4 separate regions of the Homo sapiens genome follow, and all the other regions are linked to region 1. Evidence: promoter capture Hi-C in human tissues and cell types (Jung and others, 2019). All regions are on one chromosome and are shown on one strand. The core of a region is centred on a gene start or on the middle of the fragment in contact, and the rest is flanking DNA. Distances in the headings are between cores, read along the strand shown.

Region 1 (3,123 bases), core at 457-2,956:
CAGCCTGATGAAGGGGATTGTTGCCGCTGCTCCTGCCCCACTCCCCCAAACTCAGTGTCAGCTCAAGATTGTGCCCAGCAGGGATGGGACCAACGCCAGCCTCACACTCACCTGTGGGGCAGACGCCCATGTCTGACCACCGTGGATCGAATCTGTTTCTCACACACAGGGGAGGGGCTGAGCGCTGACCGTGGCCTCCAGTGAGTGAGCAGAGACCCCCCAGCGCCTGTCCACACACACAGGGGAGGGGGAGCCACCGCTTCCAGCCTCACCCAGAGCCCTGACCCCTCCCTGCCTGGGAGGACGTGGGGTTCCTCTTCTGTCCCACATGGAGGTGGGAGCCTCCTCCTCCCTAATGACGCTCGGTGGTCCCAGACACCTGTGGCCACTCAGCATTGAACTCTGCTCATGGAAGGGGATGCGTCTCAATGTGAGGAACTGTTCTTCCTCTTTCTCGGCCTGTGGCTGTGATGATCTGCATATTTCAGACGTATCACAAGAATTTCATGGTATTTGGAGCCAATGTGGGCTCTTGAATGGGGGCGTCAATCATCCTCCTCAACTGTGGAGCCCAGCACCAGGATCCTCTCCCGTCCCCACCCTCCTGTCTGAACTGGTCTGGAAATTCACCATGGCTGAGCCTCCCATGTCCTGGGCACCACTGACCCCCACAGCCACTGTGATGAGTGGGGTTCACGACAGCAGGCTCAGAGGTGACATTCATGTCCAAAGTCTCATAAACCCTAGATGATAATCAGGAATTAAATACAAATCAGCTCACCTTCCCCAGAATCAGATTATAGATTACAATGAAACATATATATATATATATATATATTTCTCTTTATCCCCTCTATTTCTCCTTTTCAGACAGGATCCTGCGCTGTCGCCCAGGCTGGAAGGCCAAGGGGTGATCATATCTCCCTGCAGCCTCCGCCTCCCGGGCCCAGGTGGTCCTCCCACCTCAGCCTCCTGAGTAGCTGGGACCACAGGCATGAGCCTCCATGCCCAGCTCACTTTTTTCTTTTCTGTAGAAACAGGGTCACAGTCTGTTTCCCAGGACTGTCTGAAGCTCCTGGCCTCAAGCCATCACCCGCCACAGCCTCCTGAAGTGCTGGGATTCCAGGCATGAGCCACCACGGTAGACGCTGCATTTCTCCTCTGTGCTCACTGCTACACGCAGCTCAGCCTGGACTACACAGCCAGGTGTCAGGTGCGTCTCTGCTGATCTGAGTCTGCCTGCAGCATGGACCTGGGTCTTCCCTGAAGCATCTCCAGGGCTGGAGAGACGACTGCCATGGTAAGGACCCCGTAACGCTGAGCTGATGGACGGGCTGAAGGAGGGAGGGAGACCCCATGGGGAGGCTCTGAGAGGGAGGATGAGCCCACAGTCACCCTCGCCTCAAAGGGGCTGACTCCAGAAGGCACTGGTTCTATTTGCTGCTGTGTCCTAGCTCTCAGTGAGATAAAGATAAATCAGGCAGACAGTGGCCCGGGGGCAGGGAGACCCCATTTCTCTCTGAAATGCCTGCAGAGAGCCTGGTGCCTGCCCCCACTTCAGCCCTGGGGAAATCAGAGCCAGGTTCCTGGGGTGGCAGTTCCTCTTCCTGTGGGCTGAGGATGAGACAACCCCATGACAAGAAGGACCCAGCCTCCGAGCGGCCACACCCTGTGTGTCTCTCTGTCCTGCCAGCACTGAGGGCTCATCCCTCTGCAGAGCCCGGGGTCACCAGGAGGAGACGCCATGACCCCCACCCTCGCAGCCCTGCTCTGCCTAGGTGAGATTTCAAGATGGGGAGGGGGAGATCTGAGTCTTGGAGGAACCCCACCCCACACACAAGCCCTGGTCCATCAGGAGACCTCAAAAGCTCAGGAGGCACCAGGGCGGGGAGGACCTGCTCAGGCTTCAGGGCAAATGCCTCACAGGGAATTCTCTTCCAGGGCTGAGTCTGGGCCCCAGGACCCACGTGCAGGCAGGTGAGTCTGTCCCCAGCTGTCCCAGGTCCCTCATCCTTACTAGGGACAAGGGCCACACATGGGCAGCTGGGGGAGGAGACAGCAGTTCTGGGTGGGGAGGAGACAGTAGTTCTGGGTGACTGATGGGGATGATGAGGAAGTCCTGGGGCTGGGAGCTGGGATCTGAGCGTGGGGATGTCTTGGGATCCAGCCTCTGATTTCCATCTAGGGCCCTTCCCCAAACCCACCCTCTGGGCTGAGCCAGGCTCTGTGATCAGCTGGGGGAGCCCCGTGACCATCTGGTGTCAGGGGAGCCTGGAGGCCCAGGAGTACCGACTGGATAAAGAGGGAAGCCCAGAGCCCTGGGACAGAAATAACCCACTGGAACCCAAGAACAAGGCCAGATTCTCCATCCCATCCATAACAGAGCACCATGCGGGGAGATACCGCTGCCACTATTACAGCTCTGCAGGCTGGTCAGAGCCCAGCGACCCCCTGGAGCTGGTGATGACAGGTGAGAGGACACTCTGGGGTCCCAGCCCCAGGCTCTGCCCTCAGGAAGGGGGTCGGCTCTCAGGGGTGTCTCCCTCTCACAGCCCAGCCCTGGGGATGATGTGGGAGGTGGGAGCCCCATTTAACATGGTGCCTCTTTCTCTCCTAGGAGCCTATAGCAAACCCACCCTCTCAGCCCTGCCCAGCCCTGTGGTGGCCTCAGGGGGGAATATGACCCTCCAATGTGGCTCACAGAAGGGATATCACCATTTTGTTCTGATGAAGGAAGGAGAACACCAGCTCCCCCGGACCCTGGACTCACAGCAGCTCCACAGTGGGGGGTTCCAGGCCCTGTTCCCTGTGGGCCCCGTGAACCCCAGCCACAGGTGGAGGTTCACATGCTATTACTATTATATGAACACCCCCCGGGTGTGGTCCCACCCCAGTGACCCCCTGGAGATTCTGCCCTCAGGTGAGGGAGCCACGGCCTTGTCTAACACACTTTCGGGGCAGCTGACAGGTTGTGGGGAGTTTGGCTGGTGACTGAATCTGGAAAGGACCCAGAGTGATGTGTTGAAGGACGGGCTGAAGGCATGAGGGAGACCCCATGGGGAGGCTCTGACATGGGAGGAGGAGCCCTCAGCCACGCTCACCTGAACGGGGAGGACTCAGGAA
Region 2 (3,123 bases), core at 371-2,870, 58 kb after region 1:
AGACCAGCCTGACCAAAATGGAGAAACCCTGTCTCTACTAAAAATACAAAAGATTAGCTGGGCGTGGTGGCACATACCTGTAATCCCAGCTACTCGGGAGGCTGAGGCAGGAGAATTGCTTGAACCCAGGAGGCGGAGGTTGTGGTGAGCTGAGATCGTACCATTGCACTCCAGCCTGGGCAACAAGAGCAAAACTCCATCTCAAAAATAAATAAACAAATAGAAATACTCATTCTAGGCCAGCTGCGGGTGGCTCACGCCTGTAATCCCAGCACTTTGGGAGGCTGACGCGGGTAGATCACCTGAGGTTAGGAGTTTGAGACCATCCTGGCCAACATGGTAAAACTCCGTCTCTACTAAAAATACAAAAATGAGCCGGGTGTGGTGGCTCACACCTGTAATCCCAGCTACTCAGGAGGCTGAGGCAGGATAATTGCTTGAACCTGGAAGGTGGAGGTTGCAGTGAGCCAAGATCCCGCCATTGCACTCCAGCCTGGGCCTTCCCGGGCAAGATTCCATCTCAAAAAAAAAAGAAAAGAAAAGAAAGAAAACTCGTTCTGGATGCTGAAGGAGAATTGAAGTGGAACAGGGCAAGATGGGATGGACTCAGATAAAGGGATCCTCCTTTGTCCGAGTCCAGGTGACAAACTGTGGTGGCTTGATACAGGCCGTTGGCTGGCTGTGGGTAGGTCTGAGTTGCAGCAGGAAACGCGCATTTAGGATGACTGAAGGAGTGGCCACCAATTGGGCAGGATGTAGAAGAGCAAGAAGGGATGGTGCCTGAACCCCAGCCCGGCAGAAGGAGCCGTTCCCAACCCTAGGCCCAGGGGAAATGGGTCAGGTTGTGGTACCTGGATGGAAAAAGGGTTGTGTAGGCCTGGTGCAGTGGCTCATACTTGTATAATCCCAGCGCTTTGGGAGGTCATAGTGGGAGGACTGCTGGAGGCCAGGAGTTTAAGACCAGCCTGGGCAATATAGTGAGACCCTGTCTCTACAAAAAATTAATTTTTTAAATGTTATTTATTTTTAAAGATGGAGTCTCGCTCTGTTGCCCAGGCTGGAGTGCAGTGGTGTGATCTCACTGCAACCTCTGCCTCTCGGGTTCGAGCGATTCTCCTGCCTCAGCCTCTCGAGTAGCTGGGACTACAGGCGCCCACCACCACGCCTTGCTAATTTTTATATTTTTAGTAGAGATGGGGTTTCACCATGTTGGCCGGGCTGGTCTCAAACCCCTGACATCAAGTGATCTGCCTGCCTAGGCCAACCAAAGTGCTAGTGTTATAGGTGTGAGCCGTCACACCTGGCCCTAAATTTTTTTTTTTTTTTTTTGAGACGGAGTTTCACTCCTGTTGCCCAGGCTGGAGTGCAATGGTACGATCTTGGCTTACCGCAACCTCCGCCTCCCAGGTTCAAGCGATTCTCCTGCCTCAGCCTCCTGAGTAGCTGGAATTACAGGCACTCACCACCATGCCCGGCTAATTTTTTGTATTTTTAGTAGAGACAGGGTTTTTCCATGTTGGTCAGGCTGATCTCGAACTCCCGACCTCAGGTGATCCGCCTGCCTCGGCCTCCCAAAGTGCTGGGATTACAGGCGTGAGCCACCGCGCCCGGCCAAAATTATTTTTTTTAAAGGGTGTGTAGAGCCACCCACCTTGAAATGATCTATCAAGGGTGACAGCCAGCCCAAGGCCATCTTACAAGGGAATAAAAGCCCTACCCTCCCTCTCCTGACTTTGTCTCCAGCCAGGGATTTCTACTGACAACCCAGCCACAAGCTGGAAGAAGGAGATCTATTGATATAGGGTGGACCTTGGGACTGGTGGGAAAGGGTGGAGAGTACAACATATTCAGCTCAGTAGTGGAGATGGAAAGAGGCAACAGACTCAAACTTAAGGGATTTCAAGGCGGGCAGATCACTTGAGGCCAGGAGTTCGAGACCAGCCTGGCCAGCTGAGGCATGAGAATTGCTTGCGCCCCCAGGAGGTGGGGGTTGCAGTGAGCCGAGATCACACCAGTATACTCCAGCCTGGTGACAGAGCAAAACTTGTCTCAAAAAAAAAAAAAAAAAAAAAGAGAGAGAGATTAAAGGATCGGATTTGGGGAGTGAGGGAGATTTTTGGCTTGAACAATTTGGTGGCCTGTTGTTTGAGGGGTGACACTAGAAGAGGGTCTACCTTGTGGGGTGGGTAACATCATGTTCCGTTTCCAGTGCGTTTGGGGTGCCTGGAGACATCCGAGTATAAATGCCAATAAGCCACTTGATTGGATAGGTCTGGGGCTGGGGTAGCGTTTGGGCGTCCTCAGCGTGTGGATAGTATCGAAACCTCCGTGATTGCGTGAGAGCAGGTAAGCACAGAACAGGGAAAGGGGAGGAGGGCCTGGGACTGAGCCCTGGGGAACACCGCCCAGCTAGAGGCGTTACACACAACCTAGATGGGCAGAGCTGCGGGCACCCAGCACCCCTTGGCTGCCGAGGGCAGCCGCGCAAGGGAGATGGGTGTGGGGAAGGGCCCAGAGTCTGACCTGGCCCCTTGCCCACCCCCTTCTGCCCAGCTGGTGAGCCTGGCCAGTGAAGTCCAGGACCTGCATCTGGCCCAGAGGAAGGAAATGGCCTCAGGCTTCAGCAAGGGGCCCACCCTGGGGCTGCTGCCCGACGTGCCCTCCCTGATGGAGACACTCAGCTACAGCTACTGCTACGTGGGAATCATGACAGGTGAGTGGGGCTGCCCTAACAACTCTGCCGCTCTGTCTCCTGTGTCCCCTTCCGCCCTGAGTGCCTGTTCTGTGTTCCCGCCCTGCCCAGGGCAACCTCCATCCTAGCATCTGCTGCTGTGAGGGTGGGCATGTGTCTGGGTCTACGTCTCACACCTCCGCTGGACCAGAGCTGCTTTGGGGTAGAAGCTGGCTGTCTCAACCTAAGCAATTCCTTGCTCTTCTCCTTGTAGCGTATTGGGAGCAAAGAGAAGAGATAAAGGAGGTAAAGATCTATGTCAACCTGATGTTTTTGCTTCCCAGACAACAAATATTCACGGCTTAGGGTCCACTTTCAGCTTAAGGAAATATTTTTCATCTGGGCGTGGGGGCTTATGCCTATAATCCTAGCACTTTCGGAGGCTGAGGCGA
Region 3 (3,123 bases), core at 400-2,899, 46 kb before region 1:
CCAGGCGCGGTGGCCCACCCCTGTAATCCCAGCACTTTGGGAGGCGGAGGCAGGCGGATCAGGTGAGGGCAGGAGTTTGAGACCAGCCTGGCCAACGTGGTGAAGCCCCATCTTTACTAAAAATACAAAAATTAGCCGGGTGTGGTGGTGCGTGCTTGTAGTGCCAGCTACTCGGGAGGCTGAGACAGGAGAATCGTTTGAACGCGGGAGGTGGAGGTTGCGGTGAGCTGAGATTGTGCCACTGCACTCCAGCCTGGGCGACAGAGTGAGACTCTGTCTCGAAAAAAAAAAAAAAAAGATTTGCATTTCATGCTTAAATGTATGCACACTAGTGACTTAATTACTTCCTCCCTGAAGACCCCAATGGCACCAGACACAAATGCTCTGTCAGTTTTAATTTTCTCTTTAATGCAGGCGCTTCTCCTTCTGACAAGCTTTCATTTCTCATTTTCTGGACATGACTGTGATAACGGGGGTGTTGATGAAATATTATGAGAAGCATCTCTCAAGGGCAGGAACAAAGGGGCTCTCCTTAGTGGAAACATCAATCTCAGGCCTTGATGGTGGGCGCCAGCATCCCTTCATGCCCCCACCCCTCCTGTCTTCACCTGCTCTGGAAATTACCCATGGCTGAGCCCCCTGCAGTCCCCAGGCTCCAATGACCCAGCTCCCCTGTGATAAATGGGGTTCATCACAGGCTCCAAATGAGGAAACCGAGGCTCAGAAATGGGAGGTTACTGCCCAAGGTCACACAGGCAGGGGGTGACACATGAATATTTAAATAAAGACAAGATTTCCCCTCAAAGCAGAGTGCTAACCCCACGTATTGTCCCAGAACCTTGAACTCAGGAGCACAGGATGGGAACAGGAGTGTTTGAAAGAAGACAGGGGCACCAAGAAGGCAGAGTCAGGTCAATGTTGTTTCCAGGGAGACGGGGGCAGATGCTGTTGCGATGAGTGAATGAGAAGTTCGTGAAGGGAACGTTTTTGCATAAAGAAAACCCACACTCCAGTTCTGGGGAAAGAGTCATGATTCCTTCCCTTGTCTCCATGTATTTCCCTTTTCTGTTCATCGCCACAATAAAGCTCAACTGGAACTGCACAGCAAGATGCGAGATGAGTCTCTGCTGATGTGAGTCTGCCCCGCAGCCTGAATTTGCATCTTCCCTGAAGCTTCCCCAGGACTGGTGAGAAGACTGGCCATGGTAGGTTCCCCACAAGGGTGTGTTTATGGGTGAGCTGAAGGAGAGAGGGAAACCCCACGAGGAGTCTCTGAGAGGAAGGAAGAACCCTCCGTTGCCTTCACCTGGAAGGGACCAACTCAGGAAGGCACCACGTCCATTTGCAGCTACGTCCCGGCCCTCAATGAGACGAGGACATGTCAGGCAGACAGTGAAAGGAGATCAGGAGAGATGCCATGCGTGTCTGAAATATCAGCAGAAAGCCTGGTGCCTGTCTCAAAGGATGGTTCAATATATGCAAGTCAATAAAGGTGACTCACGACATAAACTAAGAACAAAAAGCATGTGATAATCTCAAGCGATGCAGATAAAGCATTCGAGAAAGGCCAAGTCCTGGGAAAACATGAGCCAGCGGGGTCCGGGACAGCTCACCACCCATGGAGATGCTGGTGGGAAAATCCTGTAAGTGGGAGTAAGGAAGGAGACCACTACTACTCCTGCTGCCCTCCTCCCCCCACCTTGCCTAGTTCACAAAACAGGAAGAGAGAAAAAGCCAAAAGTTGGAAAAATACAAAAGTAAGATAAATAGCCAGACAACCTTGGCACCACCACCCGGCCGTAGGAGTTAAAAAAAGTAATAATAATAACATCAACCCCTGACCTAAACTACTGGTGTTATCTGTAAATTCCAGACACTGCATGAAAAAAGCACTGTAAAACTTTTTGTTCTGTTAGCTGATGCATATAGCCCCCCACAGTCATGTTTCCCACGCTTGCTTGATGTATCACGACCCTTTCACGTGGACCCCTTAAAGTTATAAGCCTTTAAAAAGGCCAAGAATTTCTTTTTCGGGGAGTTCGGCTCTTAAGACGCGAGTCTGCCCACGCTCCCAGCTGAATAAAAACCTCTTCCTTCTTTAATCCGGTGTCTGAGGAGTTTTGTCTGCGGCTCGTCCTGCTACAGGAGAGCCCTGCCTCTCTGTGCCATGACTGTCACTCCCATGGCCATGGTCCACTTCACTGAGATTTGACGAGGGGAAAGGGAGATTCTAGCATGAGAGGGACCCTGCCCCACAGATAGGCCCTGGTCCAGTAGGAGACCCCAGGGGCTAGGGAGGATCCCATTCTCATTTTCCTGGGAAAATGTTTTCACTTCTCCCCATTCAATTTGATGTTGGCTGTGGGTTTGTCACGCAGGGGGTGTTGGTATTTTGCGGTATGTTTCTTTCATGCCTAGCCTGTTGAGGGATTTTATCACGAAGCGATGTTGGACTTTCTTGAAAGCTTTATCTGCATCTATAGAGATGATCATATGCTTTTTGTTCTTAGTTCATGTCATGAGTCACTTTTATTGACTTGCATATATTGAACCATCCTTTCTTCCCTGGAATCAAGCCAACTTGATCATGATGAATTATGTTTTTGATACACTGTTAGATTCCGTTTGCTAGTATTTTCTTGAGGATTTTTGCATCTGTGTTCCTCAGATTTCTTGGCCTGTAGTTTTATTTTTCTGTTGGATCCTTGTCTGATTTTGCTATCAGGATGATACTGATTTTGTAAAATGAGCTGGCAAAGAATCCCACTTCCTTGATTTTTGGAATACTTTCAGTATGATTGGTACCAGCCCTCCTTCGTACATACAGCTAAGTTCAACTGCGAATCCATCTGTTCCTGGACTTTTTTGCTGGAAGATTTTTAGTACTGATCCTTTTTCATTGGTTGTTATCGGTCTGTTTAGAGTTTCTATTTTTTGCCTGTGCAATCTTGGGAAGTTGTGTGTGTCTAGGAATTCATCTATTTTCTCCAGGTTTTCTAGTTTATGTGCATAAAGGTGTTCATAGTAGTCTCTGATGATCTTTTGTATCTCTGTGGTGTTGGTTGTAATGTCAACTTTATCATTTCTGATTGTGCTTATTTAAATCTCCTTTTTTTGGTTAGT
Region 4 (3,123 bases), core at 431-2,930, 36 kb after region 1:
ATCCACTAGCCCAGACCCCACGCTCCAAGGAAGGAGACCACAGTGAGCCCAGATGGTGCAGCAGCTGGCCCCATGGACACAAGACCACCGTCATTTCCCAAGTAGCAACGCTGAGGGAAGGAAGGGCCAACCACCTAGCTTGAGTAAGCCGCAATGGACTTCTCCACGTGGTTTACAGTAACTTAGCTGTGTTCCAGAACTGTCCCTGCCCTGACCTCAAACCCTGAAGGCCTCCAGATAAGGACCCAATCAACTACAGCCTGCAGCCTGAGGGGGTTGCACAATTTCAGGTTTCTCACTTCCTCAGAAACCAAACCCCTTCCCAACACAGATGATCAACAAGGCTGAGAAAAGGGAAGCCTGCCAACCTCTTGACCGTGAGTCCACAGAAGCACTGAACGCGGAGAGGAGGAACAGACTTCCCTCAACGCCCCTTCTCCTACGCTAACCCACTTCCCCTACATGTGAAGACAAAACTGGGAACTTGCCCAACATCAACTGCATCACAAGCTTTGAAACTAGCAAGCAAATTCTGTGAAGTGTTCCCCAACAATCACCAACAGTTCACCTTCCCCAGCAACCCGTCAGCCTCTGGTCAGCTCCCGTCCCACCTGTCTCTTGCCTGGCGGGGTCAGGGTCCCAGGGCCAGCAGGCAGGGAAGGCCCCCACCTCCACTCGGCGCCTGCCCTGCCTAGCAATGACCGGCTCCCTCCCACCCCTATATGCAAACACCGGCTTACTTGGAATTTCCTTCTGGTTTTGACACAGTTTTTCCAAAAATACCACTCGTCTCTCCCCTGATGACAGAAGTTTCTGGTAAAGATGTGTGTTCACTACTGTAGAATAGTACTGAGAGGCCAGGGACCACTAGCTGGTAGGCACTCCCAAGTGAGTGAGCCTCCCAGGGAAGGCTGCATGTTTAGAGCAGGGGAAAGAGTCAAGGATGAGAGACCCCCACACACCAATTGTAAAGCGCTGATCCTGTTTATTTGGCAGGAAAACGAGACAATCCAGCAGCCCAGGAGGGACAGGTGGACTTAATCCTCCTCCTCGTCGTCTCCAGCCCCAGCCCCACCCTGGCCCTTCTTGGCATTCTTCCTCTTCACGCGGCCCGGGCGGCCACCCCCGTAGGGAGAGCGCAGAGAGAAGTCGATGTGCTTCTGGGAATCCAGGCGGACAATGAAGGACGGGATGTTCACCACCTGCTTGCGGACCCTGGAAGCAGCGACAAGGTGAGGTGGACTGGAGGAGAAACGGACGCTAACCCCAGCTACCGCACCACTCTTTCCTCTCCACCCACCCCGTGAGGCCGCCACGGCTGCAGACACCAAGGCGCTGCAGGAAGGGTGCACCTGATCCTACGTGCGCCCTCCGGGGTTTTAGGGTATCACCTTAATCCCCAAAAATGCTTCAGATGACTTTCTCAACCCCATTTTATAGGAGAAATCCGAAAGTATCCCACCTAAGACCACAAAGCAAATGAGATGGCCATGTGAGAGCCCCCAAGTTCCGAGTCTGAAATATCGTGAACCCCACACCTGACACTGAGCTGTATTACCACGTGCAGCAGCAATGCCCACAATAACACAGCAACCCGAGGCTACGTCTCCGACGAAAGCATTGACACACAAGGCTCTGCCTACGGCTCACAGGGTTAGTGAAGGGCTGGGGCGAAGATTCTAAACGCAAACATCTTGCCCTCTTTCTGTACAGCTCCTCCCCCTCAATGGTGCCACATTACAGAAAGGGCACACTGAGTACCCAGAACGCAGTCATGGATCGGGGTCTGGAATCAACTTCACAAGCGGGCCAGGAGACAGCTGAACCCACCACCCAAGCGAGGTGAGGCTGGTTCTCTCCCTCCACTGGGGACACCAAGAGCTGTTACCTGTCCAGCTGCCCACATGCCTGGCAGAGGCCTTCACAAGGTGTACGGCTAGAGCCGCAGTGACCCTTGCGCTGGGCTATTGGGGCAAGAGGCTGCCCCAGCTCCCTGGTGAGCTGTGTGCAAGGGTGAATCTGTACCCTCTGGGTGAGTTCACACCCATCACCTCCGAGGGCTGCATAGGAGATAGGGACAGCAGGCTTAGTGAGGGCAACCATCAGAGGGGCAGGTGGAGGAAGATTCAGGTGCCCATCCGAGGTGGTACCTGATATGGCGCTGGCGGATCAGCACGCGAGCGTGGTGGATGGACTTGGCCAAGCCCAGCTTGAAGACCTGGGTCTGCAGGCGTCTCTCTAAGAAATCCTCTATCTTCAGGCCCAGGATGTAATCCAGCTTCATCTTGCCCTCATCCAGCACCCCAATGCGGACCAGCCGCCGCAGCAGGGCGTTGCCTGGGAAGAGTGGGAGGAAACACTGATTCCGCCTTCTGACCTCAGGCTTCTTGGGTTCAAATCCTGGCTCCGCCTCTTGGTAGCTCCATGCCGCGGCGGTGAGGCACAAGTAGTACAGCGCCATCACCGTGACCCATGTCACTGTCAAAACCACCCTACGGGCTGGGAGTGGTGGCTCACACCTGTAATCCCAGCACTTTGGGAGTCCGAGACGGATCACTTGAGGTCAGGAGTTTGAGAGACCAGCCCGGCCAACATGGCGAAAGCCCGTCTCCACTAAGATTACGAAAAATTAGCCAGGCCGTTGGCGCACTGCCTGTAATCCCAGCTATTCAGGAGGCTGAGGAAGGAAAACTGCTTGAACCCAGGAGGCGGAGGTTGCAGTGACCTGAGATGGGGCCACTGCACTCCAGCCTGGGCGACAGAGTGAGGCCCTGTCACAAAACAAAACAATACAAAAAACCAAACTACCCTATGGTTGTCAGGTCATCATTCATAGTAAACTGCAGATGACAGGAGGGCAAAATACACCTGCCTCCTCATCTGAGAGCATACATCCCTCGCTCCACATTCTTAGCAAGAGTAAAGGAAATCACCTCCTTACAAGGACTCAGTCTGCAAAAGACCAAATGCAGCTGCTATTAAGCTACTACCACCGTAACAAAGCACAGTGCTGAAGAGTTCATATCCTCAGCCCAGACAGCTCTTCTGATTAAGCAGATGTGAGATTGAATCACATTCCGTGCCATAAATAGCAGTATCTACATCTTTTAAGGAGAGAAAAGT

The links. Contacts are between HindIII fragments. The study calls those that stand out against the background at their distance.
Region 2: a fragment that was not itself captured here is called in contact with the fragment with the promoter of LILRA6 in region 1 in 1 of the 25 tissues and cell types used here (spleen).
Region 3: a contact is called between a fragment that was not itself captured here and the fragment with the promoter of LILRA6 in region 1, in 4 of the 25 tissues and cell types used here (aorta, bladder, pancreas and 1 more).
Region 4: a fragment that was not itself captured here is called in contact with the fragment with the promoter of LILRA6 in region 1 in 5 of the 25 tissues and cell types used here (mesenchymal stem cells, ovary, pancreas and 2 more).

What each region holds. Positions count from the first base shown.
Region 1 is chr19:54,241,373-54,244,495 of GRCh38, reverse strand. LILRA6 (leukocyte immunoglobulin like receptor A6) reads left to right here and starts at 1,706. Exons shown (of 8, transcript NM_024318.5): 1 at 1,706-1,778; 2 at 1,942-1,977; 3 at 2,186-2,470; 4 at 2,618-2,920. The coding sequence starts at 1,745. It overlaps LOC107987463 (a long non-coding RNA gene), which reads left to right. Exons shown (of 3, transcript XR_007067341.1): 3 at 1,035-1,103. RefSeq lists an enhancer at 133-631. The HindIII fragment of the contact is 41,097 bases long and covers 1-3,123 here.
Region 2 is chr19:54,183,111-54,186,233 of GRCh38, reverse strand. It overlaps MBOAT7 (membrane bound acylglycerophosphatidylinositol O-acyltransferase MBOAT7), which reads left to right. Exons shown (of 8, transcript NM_024298.5): 5 at 2,554-2,713. Among named protein-coding and RNA genes, the nearest start is that of MBOAT7, 4.9 kb to the left of the region's middle. RefSeq lists an enhancer at 2,109-2,608. The HindIII fragment of the contact is 7,969 bases long and covers 1-3,123 here.
Region 3 is chr19:54,287,324-54,290,446 of GRCh38, reverse strand. No RefSeq gene overlaps it. Among named protein-coding and RNA genes, the nearest start is that of MIR4752, 6.8 kb to the right of the region's middle. The HindIII fragment of the contact is 5,378 bases long and covers 1-3,123 here.
Region 4 is chr19:54,205,490-54,208,612 of GRCh38, reverse strand. RPS9 (ribosomal protein S9) reads right to left here. Exons shown (of 5, transcript NM_001013.4): 4 at 2,151-2,337; 5 at 966-1,215. The coding sequence ends at 1,038. Among named protein-coding and RNA genes, the nearest start is that of RPS9, 6.2 kb to the right of the region's middle. RefSeq lists silencers at 1-31, 478-661, a cis regulatory region at 1-92 and enhancers at 757-1,263, 1,264-1,771, 2,279-2,787. The HindIII fragment of the contact is 5,922 bases long and covers 1-3,123 here.